2 separate regions of the Homo sapiens genome follow, and region 1 is linked to region 2. The links are contacts of gene promoters, found by promoter capture Hi-C in blood cells and fetal thymus (Javierre and others, 2016). All regions are on one chromosome and are shown on one strand. Each heading gives the region's core, a stretch centred on a gene start or on the middle of the fragment in contact. The rest is flanking DNA. Distances are from core to core; before and after follow the strand shown. Region 1 holds the start of HPF1 (histone PARylation factor 1). Region 2 holds the start of AADAT (aminoadipate aminotransferase).

What was found. Contacts are between HindIII fragments. The CHiCAGO score rates a contact against its expected background, and 5 or more counts as called.
Region 1: a contact is called between the fragment with the promoter of HPF1 here and the fragment with the promoter of AADAT in region 2, in 13 of 17 cell types (erythroblasts, fetal thymus, megakaryocytes and 10 more). The highest score is 37.9, in erythroblasts.

What each region holds. Positions count from the first base shown.
Region 1 is chr4:169,756,541-169,759,240 of GRCh38, reverse strand. It overlaps HPF1 (histone PARylation factor 1), which reads left to right and starts at 1,297. Exons shown (of 8, transcript NM_017867.3): 1 at 1,297-1,411. The coding sequence starts at 1,364. LOC107986240 (a long non-coding RNA gene) reads right to left here and starts at 1,178. Exons shown (of 3, transcript XR_001741529.2): 1 at 1,017-1,178. RefSeq lists an enhancer at 1,380-1,449. The HindIII fragment of the contact is 1,294 bases long and covers 217-1,510 here.
Region 2 is chr4:170,088,558-170,091,257 of GRCh38, reverse strand. AADAT (aminoadipate aminotransferase) reads left to right here and starts at 1,302. Exons shown (of 13, transcript NM_016228.4): 1 at 1,302-1,634; 2 at 2,694-2,700. The coding sequence starts at 1,568. RefSeq lists a silencer at 1,786-2,080. The HindIII fragment of the contact is 4,709 bases long and covers 1-1,545 here.

The DNA.
Region 1 (2,700 bases), core at 48-2,547, 330 kb after region 2:
AATTAGCTGGGCGTGGTGGCGGGCGCCTGTAGTCCCAGCTACTCCGGAGGCTGAGGTAGGAGAACGGTGTGAACCCGGGAGGTGGAGCTTGCAGTGAGCTGAGGTGGCACCACTGCACTCCAGCCTGGGCAACAGAGCGAGACTCCGTCTCAAAAAAAACAAAACAAAACAAAACAAAACAAAAAACACTGGAAACAGAGAAAAGATCCTAAAGCTTCTTGAGACAAAACAAAACAGAAAGGAAAGCAGGTTACATATCAAGAAATTTAGTGACCTGTGAAGGAGAAGGAAATATAACGACATAGTTTCTTAACAATTCTGGAAGCTAAAATATTGCGGAGCAAGCCCTCCAATATTCCGAGTGAAAGTTATTTTCAACCTAGAACTGTGCTCAGCCAGAATAAAAACATTTCCAGACATGCACACTCTGTGGGAAAAAAGACCTGGCAGCAACCTCTCTCAAGGAACTATTGGCGGATATGTTCCACAACATGAGGGTATATAATCAAGAAAAAGGAACACCCAGATTGAGGAAATAGAGAACTCATCTCAGGAATGAGGAATAAGACCTTCCCAGGATGGATGTGAAGGAGGTCCAAGGACATCAGTTGAGAGTTGTGCCTTCCAAATTTTATGTGCATAGGAATTACCAGGGGATCTTGTTGCGATGCAGATATTGATTCAGTAAGTCTGGGTAAGGCCTGAGATTTGGCGTTTTAACAAATTCCCTCAGGATGCTGAGGCCGCTGGTTCAGGGACTACACTTTGCATATCAGCGGTGTAGAGGAAAAACAGTCCAAATTGTACCAAGAAGACGACGGTACAGAGACAGAGACCGACAGACATTTATTTCCTTCTTGGAGACAATCGGGAATGAATTAGTGTAAGCCAATAACCGTACAGTAGGGTAGGGAGAGGGATGGAGGAGAAGGAGAAAAGGATTAATATTTTAAGTAAATATAAATGAAGAAAAAACAAGGAAGGGGCTGTATTGAGAACAGCCGCATACATCCAACCTTGCCTCTAGTAGACACCTGAAGAGGAAGGTTGGACCACTCTAAGGATTCAGATTCAGTAGTCTGGGGGGTCTCTGGAGCGACCCTGGAAGATGCTCCAGAAAGCCTAGATGCAGACTACGCTGACAGAAGACGCTCCTTGCACGCGCCCAGCACGGGAGTGGGCGGGGCCTCAACGCGTCCGGTGCCAGGTCTCAGGGGGCGGGGAATGGGCGGAGCCTTTCCCCTAAATTGGCGAGCCCGGGCGGCGCTGAAATTCGGCTTGGAGGCTTTTGAACCCGGAAGCGGTTGGCGGCGCTCGGAAGCGGCCGCGGATCGGGGAATTCTGCTGGCGCTGCAGCTGCAGAATGGTCGGCGGTGGCGGGAAGCGCAGGCCCGGCGGAGAGGGGCCGCAGGTACTGCCGGAAAGGCTGTGCGGGCTACGCGGGGCGCTTTGGGTGACAGCCAGGGCACCAGGAGGCAGCGCTTTTCATTCATCCAGTGACTATTAAGCTTGCTGTGTGTCCAGGGGCTGCGGTTTGCTGCGGGGATCCTGCCCAGGGCCGCTGTTTCGCGCTCTGCAGGGGGTTGGACCAGGAAAGTAGCTCCTCTGCATCTTCTGCCCAGCTCCTCTTGGAGCATTTCCTGGGGAAACGGATTAAGCCAACCAATGGTTCATTCGCCCAGCCAGATTGATTGGGAACCGATTACATACCTGACATTCTGTGGGGCGCTGCGGATTTGGGGGTCAACCTGCTTGCTCCTGCTGCTTGTTGAGCCCTCGGCCTGGGGAGGAGGGGCACAAGCAAATATGCATTCTACTGTGACTTTTTTGTTTGGGATTATAACGCTGGTGTGTAGAAAGTGCTATGGAAACACTGAAGGAGGATTTAACAAGTCCCAGGGGGTGTTAAAGAAGACTTTTAAGACAACTCTTTGAAAATTGGTTTTGAAGGCAGAGAAGTAAGATTCTGAGACATAAAACTGTAGGAGATGTTTGGGCGTAGCGGAGCGTTCGGCTTGGCTGGAGCCAGGGAAATGGGAAAATAAGAGGGACCTGATCATAAAAGCACTACTGAGAGGGGAGGAGGAGAGAGTGTGTGCATTCTCATACTTTACTACGATTTCGGAAGTTCTGTAACCACTACAGTAGCAATAAGGGGAATCAGGAAAGAAGTGCCATTGTGATAACTAAAGTTTTAGAAAAGTTACTCTGGTAGTGTCATAAATCGGACAGGGTGAGACATTCTTAGAGGGCTTAACTAACTGTTAAAGGGCCATCGGTATAGGCATCCTTCATATTGGGTCATGCATTCTAGGAAGACCAGGGTAAAGAAGAAGTGTAGCCTCTGAAGGGGACAGCTGTTCTAAATCCTAGTTGTTAGGGCTATGGAGATGCTGAACTAGTGTGTGAGTAAAGGCACAGCTGAAAAAATTCTCTTTTTGAAGGTGCAGTGAAGAACTGCTTTGGTGGAGTGATGTGCTTAACTAGAAATACAATAACAGAAATGAAGATGAGTCTGTAGAGACTATAACCGTAATGGCCAGCATTTGTATATTATGTGCTAGGACCGTTCTGTGTATTTTTACATATAATAACATTCCTTGTAACAACCCCGATATAGGCACTGTATGCCCTTTTTGCAGATGAGAAAACAAAGCACAGAGAGGTTAAGTAACTTGCCTAAGGTTGGAAATCAGTAGA
Region 2 (2,700 bases), core at 53-2,552:
AGCCCTGGTTCCCGCCCGTGCCTCTCCCTACACACCTCCCCGCAGGCTGAGGGAGCCGGCTCCGGCCTCCGCTATCCCAGGAAGGGGCTCCCACAGTGCAGCGGCGGGCTGAAGGGCCCCTCAAGCGCGGTCAGAGTGAGCGCTGAGGCCGAGGAGGCGCCAAGAGTGAGCGAGGGCTGCGAGGGCTGCCAGCAGGCTGTCACCTCTCAATACTTCCTTTTTGTTATTTAGCTGCTAGCACAAAGATTTTACTGGGTTATCTCAGCCTTTTGCTGCCAGGACCTAGATAAAAGCAGTGGCTCCTTGACCAACCTATTAGGTAAACTTAAAAGAGAGCCATTTGGCAGTGAGTCAATAATCATCTAGGAAGTACTCAGTAAATTTGTGCTGAATGAATGAATCTGTTCATTCATTTTAATAACCATTAAAGAATTTTTTAAAGTCAAAGAGAGGTTGTCTGAAACCCTTCCCTCATTAAGTGCTCACATTAAACCTTGTACATTCCATTTTGGTGATTCAGGAAGGAGAAATTGCAGAAAAGTTGAGGGAGGTGGGGAGTAAGAAGGGTTATTTTGTAAGAAAAAAAAAGGCAAGGTGCTAGACCCAAAAAGATCCGGATATTCACTTCCAACATAATTCTTATTTAACGAAAGGTCAGAAATTCAATGTGAGGGTAGACACTAAAATTGAAGAGACTCAGAGTGATTTTTCAAAAATTTTTGTCAGAACTCCATCGTCACTCCAAAATGCTGAGATCTTCGAGAAAGTGATGTTGAAATTCGTCTTGGTCGCCGGGATGCTTCCCAGGAGAGTGCCCAGAGTTTCACTAACGAAAGATGGGTATTTAGCATAGCCATGGTCTGAGCGGGCAAAATGCACAGTCCCAGTGACTGAGAGGAGGCCAGCGGAGCGCGCGGGAACGAGGGTGGGGCCGCTCCCGGCTGGGCGCAGCTCGGGAGCCCCCTGCAGTGGACCCAAGTCGCCGCCAGATGGTTCCCGAGGATTAGGATCACGGGCACTTCCGGTCCCCTCGGTCAGCCCCTGGGCTAGCCTCTGGGCCGGCGCCTAGGCCGGCCAACGCGGACGCCGGGTTGCGGTGATTCCCAGCGGCGAGGTCAAGAGTCATTGGCCTGGGGCTGCAAGCGCCTCGCGCCTGGGCTACCCCGCGCCCTGCGCTCTGAGGGCGATGATCCGGGACGGGGAGGCGCGCGCCGCGGGCGGCCATAGGCCACGGCGCGGGGCGGGAGGGGGCGCGGCGAGGCCCGCGGCGGGGCAAAACCGGCCTGGGCCCTGGCGGCCGCAGGAGCGCGTGCGGCGTGGACTTTGCCGGGCTCGCCACACAGCCCCAGACCCGTTTAGGACCGGGAGACCGAACGCAGCGTCCAGCCGGGGAGTTTCGGCGGCGTTCTCCGGGCACCGCGCGCGGGAAGCCAGACGCAGCGGGGGGACACATCTCGCGGTGGCGTTGCCAGAGTGAGGAGTTAGCAGGCAGGACTTGACGAGGCTCTTTGGTTTTTCTAGTCCTCAACCACTGAAGAAGAAGCTTGATGCTTGGCTGTCAGAAGACATGAATTACGCACGGTTCATCACGGCAGCGAGCGCAGCCAGAAACCCTTCTCCCATCCGGACCATGAGTGAGAAACGGGGTGACCATCTCTCCTTTGGGGTGGGGCATTCCTCGCACAGCCTCTAAGGAGGGTTCCCTAGCAAGCCACCGCTTGGTTGCATCCATGCGTACCCCTGTGCACGCTCGCGGTGAGCCAGGCTCTGCGTGCAGAAATGAAATAGACACAGCCTTTGTTCTCAAAGAACTCGGGCTGAAACGGAAGGCGGGTATTTCTGCTGGAGCAGAGTAGGAGCAACAGTAGAGAGAGGCGCAGACTGCTGTGGGGCACGGCCTTGGAAGGGAGGGGGCGTGCTATCAAGAAAGGCTCTTCCTGGGAAGCTGAGAAGGGGCATGCACAGCGTGCAGATGGGTGTACAGTGGAGAGGGCCAGGTAAATGGGAGAGGGGTGGGCCATGAAGCTCACAGACAGGTCGGGGCTAAGTGGAGGAGGGCTTCTGCTATTGTGGCCCTTTGCTGTCTTTCTGATCCCTCTGCCTTCTCTTTGGTCACCTTCATTCTTTAGTCCCTCCACAAGTGAGGTGCCTAGAAAAAGTTATTCTGTATGTTTATTTTAGACTAGCTTTTGTCTTAGTCCATTCAGGCTGCTATAACAAAATACCACAAACTGGGTAATTTATGAACAATAGAATTATTTCTCACAGTTCTGGAAGCTAGGAAGTCTAAGATCAAAGTGCCAGCAGCTTCTGTGTCACCATGGTGAGAGCCCTTCCTTATAGACAGAGCCATCTTGCTGCATCCTCACGTGGTAGAAGGGAGAACCTATGTCCTCACGTGGCAGAAGGGCCAAGGGCATTCCCTCAGCCCTCTTTTATAAGTGCACCAATCCCATTCAGGAGGGTGGATCCCTCCTGACCTAATCACCTCTAGAGACCCCACCTGTTAAAACTATCACATTAGTATTAACTTCCAAGTATGAATCTGGGGGAGCACCAACATTTAGACCATAGCACACTCTATCACTAGAAATCGTTAAACTTTATAGTTTTATTGACTATAATGCATGCTTAACTATCCGCTTATAACAATCTTCAATGAAATTGTTTCTTCTCTTCCATGTGTATTGTAGCTGACAT